Regions from separate parts of the Homo sapiens genome. Here regions 1 and 2 are each linked to region 3. The links are contacts of gene promoters, found by promoter capture Hi-C in human tissues and cell types (Jung and others, 2019). All regions are on one chromosome and are shown on one strand. The core of a region is centred on a gene start or on the middle of the fragment in contact, and the rest is flanking DNA. Distances in the headings are between cores, read along the strand shown.

Region 1 (3,360 bases), core at 524-3,023, 750 kb after region 3:
TTCTCTCCATAAGCTAAAGCCATTTACTGCACCAGTGCATATTTTAGTCATTTAAATTAGATTATTTTCCCTTGAAGTATATTTTATTCTGTCATATTACTTCAAAATGGGAACTATAACATAATTTCTTTTTAACCCAGAGTTGTCACTCTTCACAGTGACATTCTGGACCAGAATATAGTGACAATTTCGCTGAATTTAACAAACTTTGAATTTTCTCACACTGACTGTTTCTGTTTGTTTGAATTCCATGTTTTGTTTTGTTTTTGTTCTTTTGTGTCCGCTCTCATTTAATTTTCCAATACTCACTGACATTGTCCACAGGCCTACCTCTTGGATTCCCTCATCACTATGACTTATTAAATTTATAGTTTTTAATGTGTCAACTAGATAACCAGGTATCATCATTAAGTTATCATATAAAAAAAGAGTAAATGAGCTCTACTCTGGAACTTAAGGGGCTATTTCATGACTAAAATTTAAAACTTGGTTTAGTAGGCACATTTAGTTATCCATAGGAAGAAGCCTTGGGTTGAAAATATTTGGTAAATAGCAGGCTTTTTGGAATTAGAGTTCTAGTGCTAGTCCATCATATTCTAACTCATAGACCTTGGCATCCATTTAACCTTTCCAAGTCTCAGTTTTTCTACCAGAAAAATTGGAAACATGCATAATATGCACGCTATCTTTGCAAATGTTAGGCACATCATGTATGAGAAAAACTGTTTACAAAGTGCCTGGTGCCTAGCAAGCTTCATAAATGCGAGCTATGTATTATTATTGGGGGTTATTTTATATCCTCTCATTTCACTGCCTACTCATAGGTCACAGGCTGTGCTGGAAATAGTAATCTCCAAATAAGTGAGATATCTTTGTGTTTATAAATGTGTCTACAGGTTCATAGTGCCATTTCCATGAAGACTGCCCAAGCATGTTTTTGTCTAGAAAGTGGTAGATAGACTGTAACTGTGCCATTAATTACTTACTGGGTAATCAAATGACCTGCGCTCAAGTTTTAAGTTTCAAATGTGCCTGGGATTCAGTCTCCAGTCCCTCGCCATTGTTGTTCAATTTCCCCTCACTTCTCTGTTCTCTTCTATGCCTCAACTTTACTGATTTTTTAATGCTGAAAACAAAAATCATTTAATTTCCTGACTCTAACCATGCCCTAAGTGTCTCATCTTCCACCAAAAGCAGCTAATCAAGGTACTTTGATAGACAAAAGATTTCCCACTCTGGGAGGAATTTTCATGCTAGCTGTTGGGTTAGTCTATGTATTTCTTCCCTCTATGATTAAAACAGAAACGTGGGCTGTGTGTGGTGGCTTGCACCTGTAATCCCAGCACTTTGGGAGGCCAAGAGGAGAAGACCGTTTGAGGCCAGGAGTTTGAGGCTGCAGTGAGATATTGTCATGCCACTGCACTCCTCCCTGGGCAACAAAGCAAGACCACATCTCTAAAAAAAAAAAAAAAAGAAAGAAAAATTATCCCTGTGTGGTGGTGCACACCTGCAGTCCTACCTTCTCAGGAGGCCAAGACGGGATGATCACTAGAGCCCAGGAGTTTCAAGCTGCAGTGAGCTATGATCAAGCCACTGCAGTCTGGTCTGGGTAACAGAATGAGACTCTGTCTCCAAAAGAAAAGAAAAAAAAAAAGCAGACGTGTGTATATAGTAAACAGTATCCTTATCAACTAGGAGGCAACTACCTGTCTGAGCCACATTTAGAGGCAGGTAGGGAAGTTAATGAGAACTTCACTAAACATATTTATCTAAGCTGAACCTTAAAGGATGAAATAATCAGGTTCTCAGTCCAAGGACATCCCGTTCCTTGGTGCTATTTCAAGTCACAATAAGGTAGACCCAATTAGGTGAGCTACCAGCATGCTCAGAGAGACAATTTACCACCAGTAAAGACCATTAGAGTTAATAGAAGTTTCAAAACCAGTGAAGGGCTCATGAAGGGTGAGAATGGAAGGTGTTCTTGGACATTTGCTCTGGGTCGAAAATGCTATTGTGTATTCATTAAAACAGCAACAAAATAAAAGACCCTTCAGGAAATCCCAGTAACTAAGGTCATCAGTATCAAGAAAGCAGAGCTCTAGTCCCTGAGCAGACATTCTGTCATGCAAAGCCTCATTTAGAAATATTGACAAATTGATCTATACTATTTTTTAATGCTTAAAACACTCATGGCTGTCCTTATGTAATTGGAAGGAGGAGGCAGGAAATGGAAGGGAGGCTGTATTATTCTTTCAGAAAGTGCCTCTGAGTAAGCAAAACAAGGACAAACCTGTGACAGAGAGAGCCCTAAGAATATCGCTAATAGAAGCACTGAACTGAGGCAAACAGGTTTTATACCTGGAGGGAATATCGAAGAAAGCTCAAGAAGTACAGCAGCTAAGGACTGCCATGCTACTCTAAGTTTGGCATTGAATTGACGTCAGTTAAAGCAGCAAAAGCTATGGCTACTTTGAGTCCAGATCCTCTTAGCCACCCAGTCTATAAATGTCTGGATGATCTTTAGCTCCCCCTTATTCCTCATCACATTCACTCAAGTAATCTACTTCTAGGAACTCTCTCTTCTACGTTTCTATACTGTTGAATTCACTCTATCCTTCATGTGGTTTGGCTGTGTCCGCACTCAAATCTCATCTTGAATTGTAGCTCCATAATTCCTGTGTGTTGTGGGAGGAACCCAGTGGGAGACAATTGAATCATGAGGGCGGGTCTTTCTTGTGCTGTTCTCGTGATAGTGGTAAGTCTCATGAGACCTGATAGTTTTATAAAGCAGAGTTTCCCTGCACAAATTCGTTCTTTTATGTCACCATGTAAGACATGCTTTTTGCCTTCTGCCATGATTATGAGGCCTCCCTAGCCATGTAGAACTGTGAGACCATTAAACCTCCTTTTCTTTATAAATTACCCAATCTCTGGTATGTCTTTATCAGCAGCGTGAGAACAAAGTAATACACCCCCTGATGCTACTTTCATAGTGAAATTCCATCTAGTTTTGTTTTTTTGTTGGTTGGTTTTTTTTTTTGTTTGTTTGTTTTGTTTTGTTTTGTTTGCCTTGGTATCCCATCTCATTCTTCAAACATCAACTTGCAAATAAGTCACATGGGGATTTTGTTAAATTGCAGATTCTGCTTTAGTAGGTCTGGGATGCAGCCTGGAATTCTGCATGTCTATGTTGCTGCTGGTGAGAGGACCACACTTTAAGAGTGGAGCACTAGGGGCAAAGCCAGGTCTTGAACCCCCTATGGCCATGTTTCTTATACCACTCTCAGCAGTCTTCTGAAGGATTAGGGGAATAGACTTTCTCTATGGACCCCCAAGCCTGAAATGAGGACCACTGGGTGG
Region 2 (3,773 bases), core at 1,005-3,504, 830 kb after region 3:
AGATAGATAGATAGATACAGAAAATAGATAGATACAGAAAATAGATAGATAGATACATAGATAGATAGATACATAGATAGATAGATAGATAGATAGATAGATAGATAGATAGATACATAGATAGATGCATAGATACATAGATACATAGATAGATATTCCAATAGGTTTTGGTGTACCAGTGGTTTTTGGTTACATGGATGAATTATATAGTGGTGAATTTTGAGATTTTAGTCCACCCGTCACCTGAGTAGTGTACATTGTATCCAATATGCAGCTTTTATCTCACAACCCCCTCCCAACCTCCCTCTTCTGCGTATCCAAAGTCCTTTATATCACTCTGTATGCTTTTGTGTACACATAGCTTAGCTCCCAATTATAAGTGAAAACATATGGTATTTGGTTTTCCATTCATGAGTTACTTCACTTAGAATAGTGGCCTCCATCTCCACCCAAATCACTGCAAAAGACGTTATTTCATTCAGTTTTATGGTGAGTAGTATTCAGCCATAAATAGGAAGATATATATATATGTATATATTTTACTCAGCCATAAAAAGGGATGAAATATGTATCTTCCTATTTATATAGCACAGGTTCTTTAGCTACTCATTGGTCAATGGGCTCTTAGGTTGGTTCTATATCTTTGCAATTGCAGATTGTTCTGCAATAAACATGTGTGCGTGTGTCTTTTTCATATAATTACTTCTTTTCCCTTGGGTAGTTTATTAGTCTGTTTTCATGCTGCTTATAAAGACACACCCAAGACTGGGCAATTTAAAAAAACAAAAGAGGTTTATTGGAGTTACAGATCCACATTGCTGGAGAGACCTCACAATCAGGGTAGAAGGCAAGGAGGTTCAAGTCACATCTTACATAGATGGAAGCAGGCAAAGAGAGAGCTTGTGCAGAGAAACTCCCGTTTTTAAAACCATCAGATATCATGAGACCCATTCATTATCATAAGAATAGCACTGGAAAGACCTGCACCTATGATTCAGTTATCTCCCACTGGGTCTCTCCCACAACACGTGAGAATTATGGGAGCTACAAGATGAGATTTGGGTGGGGACACAGAGTCAAATCATATAATTTCGCCCATGACACCCTTAAATCTCATATCTTCACATTTCAAAACCAATCTTGCCTTCCCCACAGTCCCCCAAAGTCTTATCTCATTTCAGCATTAACTCAAACATCTACAGTCCAAAGTCTCATCGGAGATAAGGCAAGTCCCTTCTGCCTATGAGCCTGTAAAATCAAAAGCAAGTTAGTTACTTCCTAGATACAATGGAGGCACAGGCATTGGGTAAATACACTCATTCCAAATGGGATAAATTGACCAAAACAAAGGGGCTACAGATCCCATGCAAGCCTGAAATCCAGCAGGGCAGTAAAATCTTAAAGCTCCAAAATAATCTCCTCTTACTCCAGGTCTCACACCCAGGTCACATTGATGCAACAGGTAGGATCCCACAGCCTTGGGCAGCTCTGTCCCTGTGGCTTTGTAGGGTATAGTCCCCCTCCTGGCTGCTTTCATGGGCTAACATTGAGTGTCTGCAGCTTTTCCAGGCACACAGTGCAAGCAGTTGATGGATCTACCATTCTGGGGTCTGGAGGACGGTGGCCCTCTTCTCACAATTCCACTCAATGGTGCTCCAGTAGAGTCTCTGGGTGGTGGCTTCAACCCCACATTTCCCTTCCACACTGCCTTAGCAGAGGTTCTCCATGAGGGCCCCACCCCTGCAGCAAACTTCTGCCTAGACCTCCAGGCATTTCCATACATCTTCTGATATCTAGGTGGAGGTTCCCAAACTCCAATTATTGACTTCTGTGCACTGGCAGGCTCAACACCACATGGAAGCTGGCAGGGCTTGGGGCTTGCACCCTTGAAGCCACAGCTTGAGCTCTACATTGGCCCCTTTCAGACATGGCTGGAGAAGTTGGGACGCAGGGCACCAAGTCCCTAGGCTGCACACAGCATGGGGACTCTGGGCCTGGCCCATGAAACCACTTTTTCCTCCTAGGCCTCTGGGTCTGTGATGAGAGATGCTGCCATGAAGACCTTTTTCAGGCTCTGGAGATATTTTCCCCATTGTCTTGGGGATTAACATTCAACTTCTTTTTACTTATGCAAATTTCTGCAGCTGGCTTGAATTTCTCCTCAGAAAAGGAAGTTTTCTTTTGCATTGTCAGGCTGCAAATTTTCTGAGTTTTTATAGTTTGCTTCTCTTATAAAACTGAATGCCTTTAACAGCACGCAAGTCACATCTTGAATGCTTTGCTGCTTAGAAACTTTTTCCACCCATGCCTGTAATCCCAGCACTTTGGGAGACTGAGGCAGGCAGATCACTTGAGGTCAGGAGTTTGAAACCAGCCTGGCCAACATGGTGAAACCTTGTCTTTACTAAAAATACAAAAAAAAAAAAAAATTAGCCAGGCATAGTAGCAGGCACCTGTAATCCCAGCTACTCAGGAGGTTGAGGCAGGAGAATTGCTTGAACCCAGGAGGTGGAGGTTTCAGTGAGCCGAGATCACACCACTACACTCCAGCCTGGATGACAGAGTGAGACTCCAAAAAAGAAGAAAAAAAGAAAGAAAGAAAGAAAGAGAGAGAGAGAGAAAGGAAGGAAGGAAGGAAAAAGAGAGAGAGGAAGGAAGGAATGAATGAATGAAGGAAGGAAGAAAGGAAGGAAGGAAGGAAGAAACTTATTCCACCAGATACCCTAAATCATCTTTCTCAAGTTCAAAGTTCTGCAGATCTCTAGGGCAGGGGCAAAATGCTGCCAGTCTTTTTGCTAAAACATAACAAGAGTCACCGCTGCCAATCTTTTTGATAAAACATAACAAGAGTCATCTTTACTGCAGTTCCCAACAAGTCCCTTATCTCCATCTGAGACCACCTCAGCCTGGATTTCATTGCCTGTATCATTATCAGCATTTTGGTTAAAACCATTCAACAAGTATCTAGGGAGTTCCACACTTTCCCACATTTTCCTGTCTTCTTCTGAGCCCTCTAAACTTTTCCAACCTCTGCCTGTTACCCAGTTCCAAAGTCGCTTCCACATTTTCAGTTATCTTTTCAGCAGCACCCACTCTCAGTACCAATGTACTATTTTAACCTGTTTTCATGCTGATAATAAAGACATCCTTGAGACTAGGCAATTTACAAAAGAAAGAGGTTTATTGGACTTACAGTTCGACATGGCTGGGGAGGCCTCACAATCATGGTGGAAGGCAAAGAGGAGCAAGTCACATCTTATGTGAATGGCAGCAGGCAAAGAGAGAACTTGTGTGGAGAAACTATCATTTTTAAAACCATCAGGTCTCATGAGACTTATTCACTATCATGAGAACAGCACAGAAAAGACCTGCCCCCATGATTCAGTTATCTCCCACCAGGTCCCGTCCACAACACGTGGGAATTATGGGAGCCACAAGATGAGATTTGGGTGGGGACACAGAGCCAAACCATATCAGGTAGATACTCAGTAGTGAGATTGCTGGATTAAATGGTAGATCTACTTTTAGTTCTTTAAGGAATCTCCATACTATTTTCCATAAAAGTTCGACTAATTTACATTCCTAACAAGAGTGTATAAGTATTCACCTTTCTCCATGATATGGCTTGGATGTGTCCCCACCCAAATCTTGTCTTGAATTGTAGCTCCCATAATTCCCACATGTTGTGGGAGGGACTTGGTGGAAGATAATTTAATCATGGGGGTGGTATCCCCTATACTGTTCCCATGGTAGTGAATAAGTCTCATGAGATT
Region 3 (3,329 bases), core at 625-3,124:
CAGGAATTAATTTTGTAGAGGAATCGATATATATTGGATAAAATCTTGTTCTATCATTGATTGTCTAATTCCAGGCCCCAGGGCTCTCTCCATGTTAGCGTGTATATATGACAGCCCTTTATCATTCCGCAACACACAAAAACCACACAACAACACACTGAAGCGTACAAGCTATTATATATTTTCATAATATAGAACTTTAAAGTATAGTAATCAACAGTGGCAAAATATTTCTGTCTCTGACATTATTATTTGTGAGATCCAACCTGTAATTGAGATCAGAGAAAACAGTATGGGAAAACAAATCCATGAGAACAGGATAAAAATATCATGAACAGCAAAATATGTCTGAGTATTTAAAACTGTATAGAAAAAATAAATTAGATGAACAATTGTGTAAATATAAATTAAAAAAGATGACATTCTTAATAAATAAAGTTTACTATTTACATTTTTATATATTGCCAAAAGATTTAACTTAGATCCATAAAAACACATAAACAGAAAAAAAAATAGGAGCAGCAAATTTATGCGCGTGAGGTACAGAAAAAGGATTGGAATTGTGTTTAGTTTTTGGTGTTTAGATTATTTTCTTTGTGTCTTTCTTCTTTTTCTTTTTTTTTTTCTTTTTTACAATAGGCCAGAAGAATTCTTATGAGAACAGCTTTTAAGCACTTCAATGGAGTGTCATTTTTTTGGTAGCTTCCAGAAGGTGCCAAACAGGTTTCAACATCATATTAATTAGAAATACCCATAATAATTATAACAATAATAAAAAGGTATAATATGGTACATAAATATGGAAGAGCAGTTTGTAATATGAATACATTTTCTCTAGACGAGATCACAGTTTTATTTTGTAAATATTACATTTAAGTATATATATACACACATATATGTACAACTATATATACATGTGCATATATATGTAAATTTATATTTATATATAATATCTTTATATAGATAGATATCTGCAGACAGGTTATTGATTATAGAGACCCAAGAAAGCAACTCAATAATTGTTCAAAGTTTTCCTCACTGACTGCTGGTGTGTAGTTTAAGAAGCCCCCATTTGTTTGCACTCAGAATGCCTTATCTTCTTTTAATGGAACACTTGATGTGGAATTTTAAGTCTGAGAAGTGAGGTGCCTTCTGAAGAAGAGATTTTAGAGACTCCCTTCCTCTATAAGTTGGAAATGACCAGAAGTCTTAAGTAGACGACAGTTAGCTGACTTTGACATTGTAGGACATAATCAGCTTTTAACCAAATTATAGAACTGGTAAAGGGTAAGATCAAATTTGCCAAAAAAATAAAATATTCTCCAATACAGGTCTCTCTTTTAAGGTGGACTACAATTCAGGAGCTCCGGCTTTATTCCTTGAAATATCAAACAAGCACTCCCTGTCTTGTCTTTCTAAAAGGCCGATGGGCCTGTGCATTCTTGAATAATAACCCATGGACTTTGTGTCAAGCGTTGGCCCTCACAGCCCACCTAAAACCTCAGGGCCTCAAAATCTCCTGCCCTCCCACTGTGAGGTAGGTATATAGTATTATCCCCATTTTGCAGCTAGAGAAACTGATGCAAATGTAGAGGCAATTGGATAACTTGTTCAAGATCACTGAGCAAACTGCTGCCTGGAGTCAAAAATTCTAACTTCTGTACAACAGGGACATAATTTCTCTTTTGGCTATTATACATTTCTTTTAAAAAGCAAGTGATTGGTAGGAATTTGGCAAAAGTTGAATAAGTTACAAGAACAGGCTTTTATTCATTTGCTATTTGGTTTTTATGTTTCTTGTTTACTTCGTTTGATTTGTTTCTCAAAACTCACTCAGTGGGATTACCTGTCTGTCATGTAGCAGCTTTTTAAAAAACTGGACTGTGCAGTGTGGTTCTGAGTGCAGTCTTTATAAAGCCCAGTGCTGTACTGGTAAATATAAACATTTTATAACGTGAAAAGCACAACGACACAATATGTCCCCTTAATAGCTGGAAAAACCAATATAAGCCCTCCCACTCCCTACTACCACTGATTGCCACCAAACAAATAAACAAAATGCCCACCCCACCCAACAACAACAATAACACATCAAGGGGGAAAATGTCATATTTCCTGGACCTACCACAATGTACAGAAAATAACAGACAGTGTTATCAAATCCCACTCTATGTCTTCTAGGGAAATCTTTATGTTTGTGTCTACCTACTGAGGCTGTAGAATAAACAATTTCCTTTAGGAAACATAAAAATAGGTTTTTTATTCTTAGTTTTTAATCATGCATTTTTATTTCCTTTTAATCTCTTTGTCTTCTATTATCTCTATCTGTACAGCTTTGTCACCATTTTTTTTTATTTTCTCACTTGAAGTAGTTCCAGAAAAAAACACAAAACCTCAAAACTGTTAACTTGACCTTATAATTTCCTTTCTCTTTCTTTCTTTCTTTCTTTTTCTTTCTTTCACACAGGTAAGACCTATAACAACAAATTGACAATTACAACCAAGTTAAATCGAACCTGGAAGGGAGGTAGCTGAAATCTGTCTCAAAGAATTATTTTCAACAAATAGTATTTAAGCATTGGCCAGGATGGGAATAAGACCAAGAGAACCGTCTAGGCAGTGACTCAATGTGTTGAAGCCAGGAGTGGCAGCTGATACCCTGCATTTTCAAAGCCCTACCATCTATGACAATCTTTCCCTTCCTTAACACCCCAATTCACCATCAAAACTCATTTCCCAAGGACTGTATTTCCTTAAAAGGTTGTTGGCACAGAATCTGGGGGTAATGCAAATCCTTTGGGTAGGTAGTTAAGATTGTGGCTTGGAAAAGCTTCCCTAAATAGGGCTTAGAGGACTGTCCACCTCATCTTTCATATTTTGCTGCTAACAATCTAATACTTCAGATGCAGAACCTTCAGTGTTTTAGGGCCTTTGAGCTGCTGACACACAATAGTGCATCAGAGCTGCCTCTCAGTGCTCCGGTCACCTACACAGAAGATGACTGAAGGAATGAAATGACGAGTTAATTCCCAGGAAGAAAATGAAACTGGGAACAAATGCATTGCCCAAATTGAGCTGACCCTCCTCCACTAAGGTTTGAAAAGACCCTATTAAAGATACCTTCCATGTGGGCACGAGGTTGGCCACCAATCAAGTAGCCTCTTTTGCCTAATATCCTTGGCAAATATAAATTTGTTAGCAACAGGTCTGAATGAAAGAGACTGGGTGGGTCTTGATTCAGAAGAGCTGAATTCACTCTGTGAGTCTGAAGATACAAGTCAGCCTCCAGGAATCTTTGCTTAGCTGGATAGTGTGAAAATAGATGATGA

The links. Contacts are between HindIII fragments. The study calls those that stand out against the background at their distance.
Region 1: a contact is called between a fragment that was not itself captured here and the fragment with the promoter of PAPPA-AS1 in region 3, in 1 of the 25 tissues and cell types used here (lymphoblastoid cells).
Region 2: a contact is called between a fragment that was not itself captured here and the fragment with the promoter of PAPPA-AS1 in region 3, in 2 of the 25 tissues and cell types used here (H1 embryonic stem cells and IMR-90 fibroblasts).

Annotation. Positions count from the first base shown.
Region 1 is chr9:115,646,241-115,649,600 of GRCh38, reverse strand. All of the region lies in intron 2 of LOC105376235 (a long non-coding RNA gene), which reads right to left. Among named protein-coding and RNA genes, the nearest start is that of LINC00474, 280 kb to the left of the region's middle. The HindIII fragment of the contact is 3,578 bases long and covers 1-3,360 here.
Region 2 is chr9:115,565,577-115,569,349 of GRCh38, reverse strand. No RefSeq gene overlaps it. Among named protein-coding and RNA genes, the nearest start is that of LINC00474, 360 kb to the left of the region's middle. The HindIII fragment of the contact is 5,245 bases long and covers 1-3,773 here.
Region 3 is chr9:116,399,151-116,402,479 of GRCh38, reverse strand. It overlaps PAPPA-AS1 (PAPPA antisense RNA 1), which reads left to right and starts at 1,874. Exons shown (of 1, transcript NR_103711.1): 1 at 1,874-3,329. It overlaps PAPPA (pappalysin 1), which reads right to left. Exons shown (of 22, transcript NM_002581.5): 22 at 159-3,329. The HindIII fragment of the contact is 20,173 bases long and covers 1-3,329 here.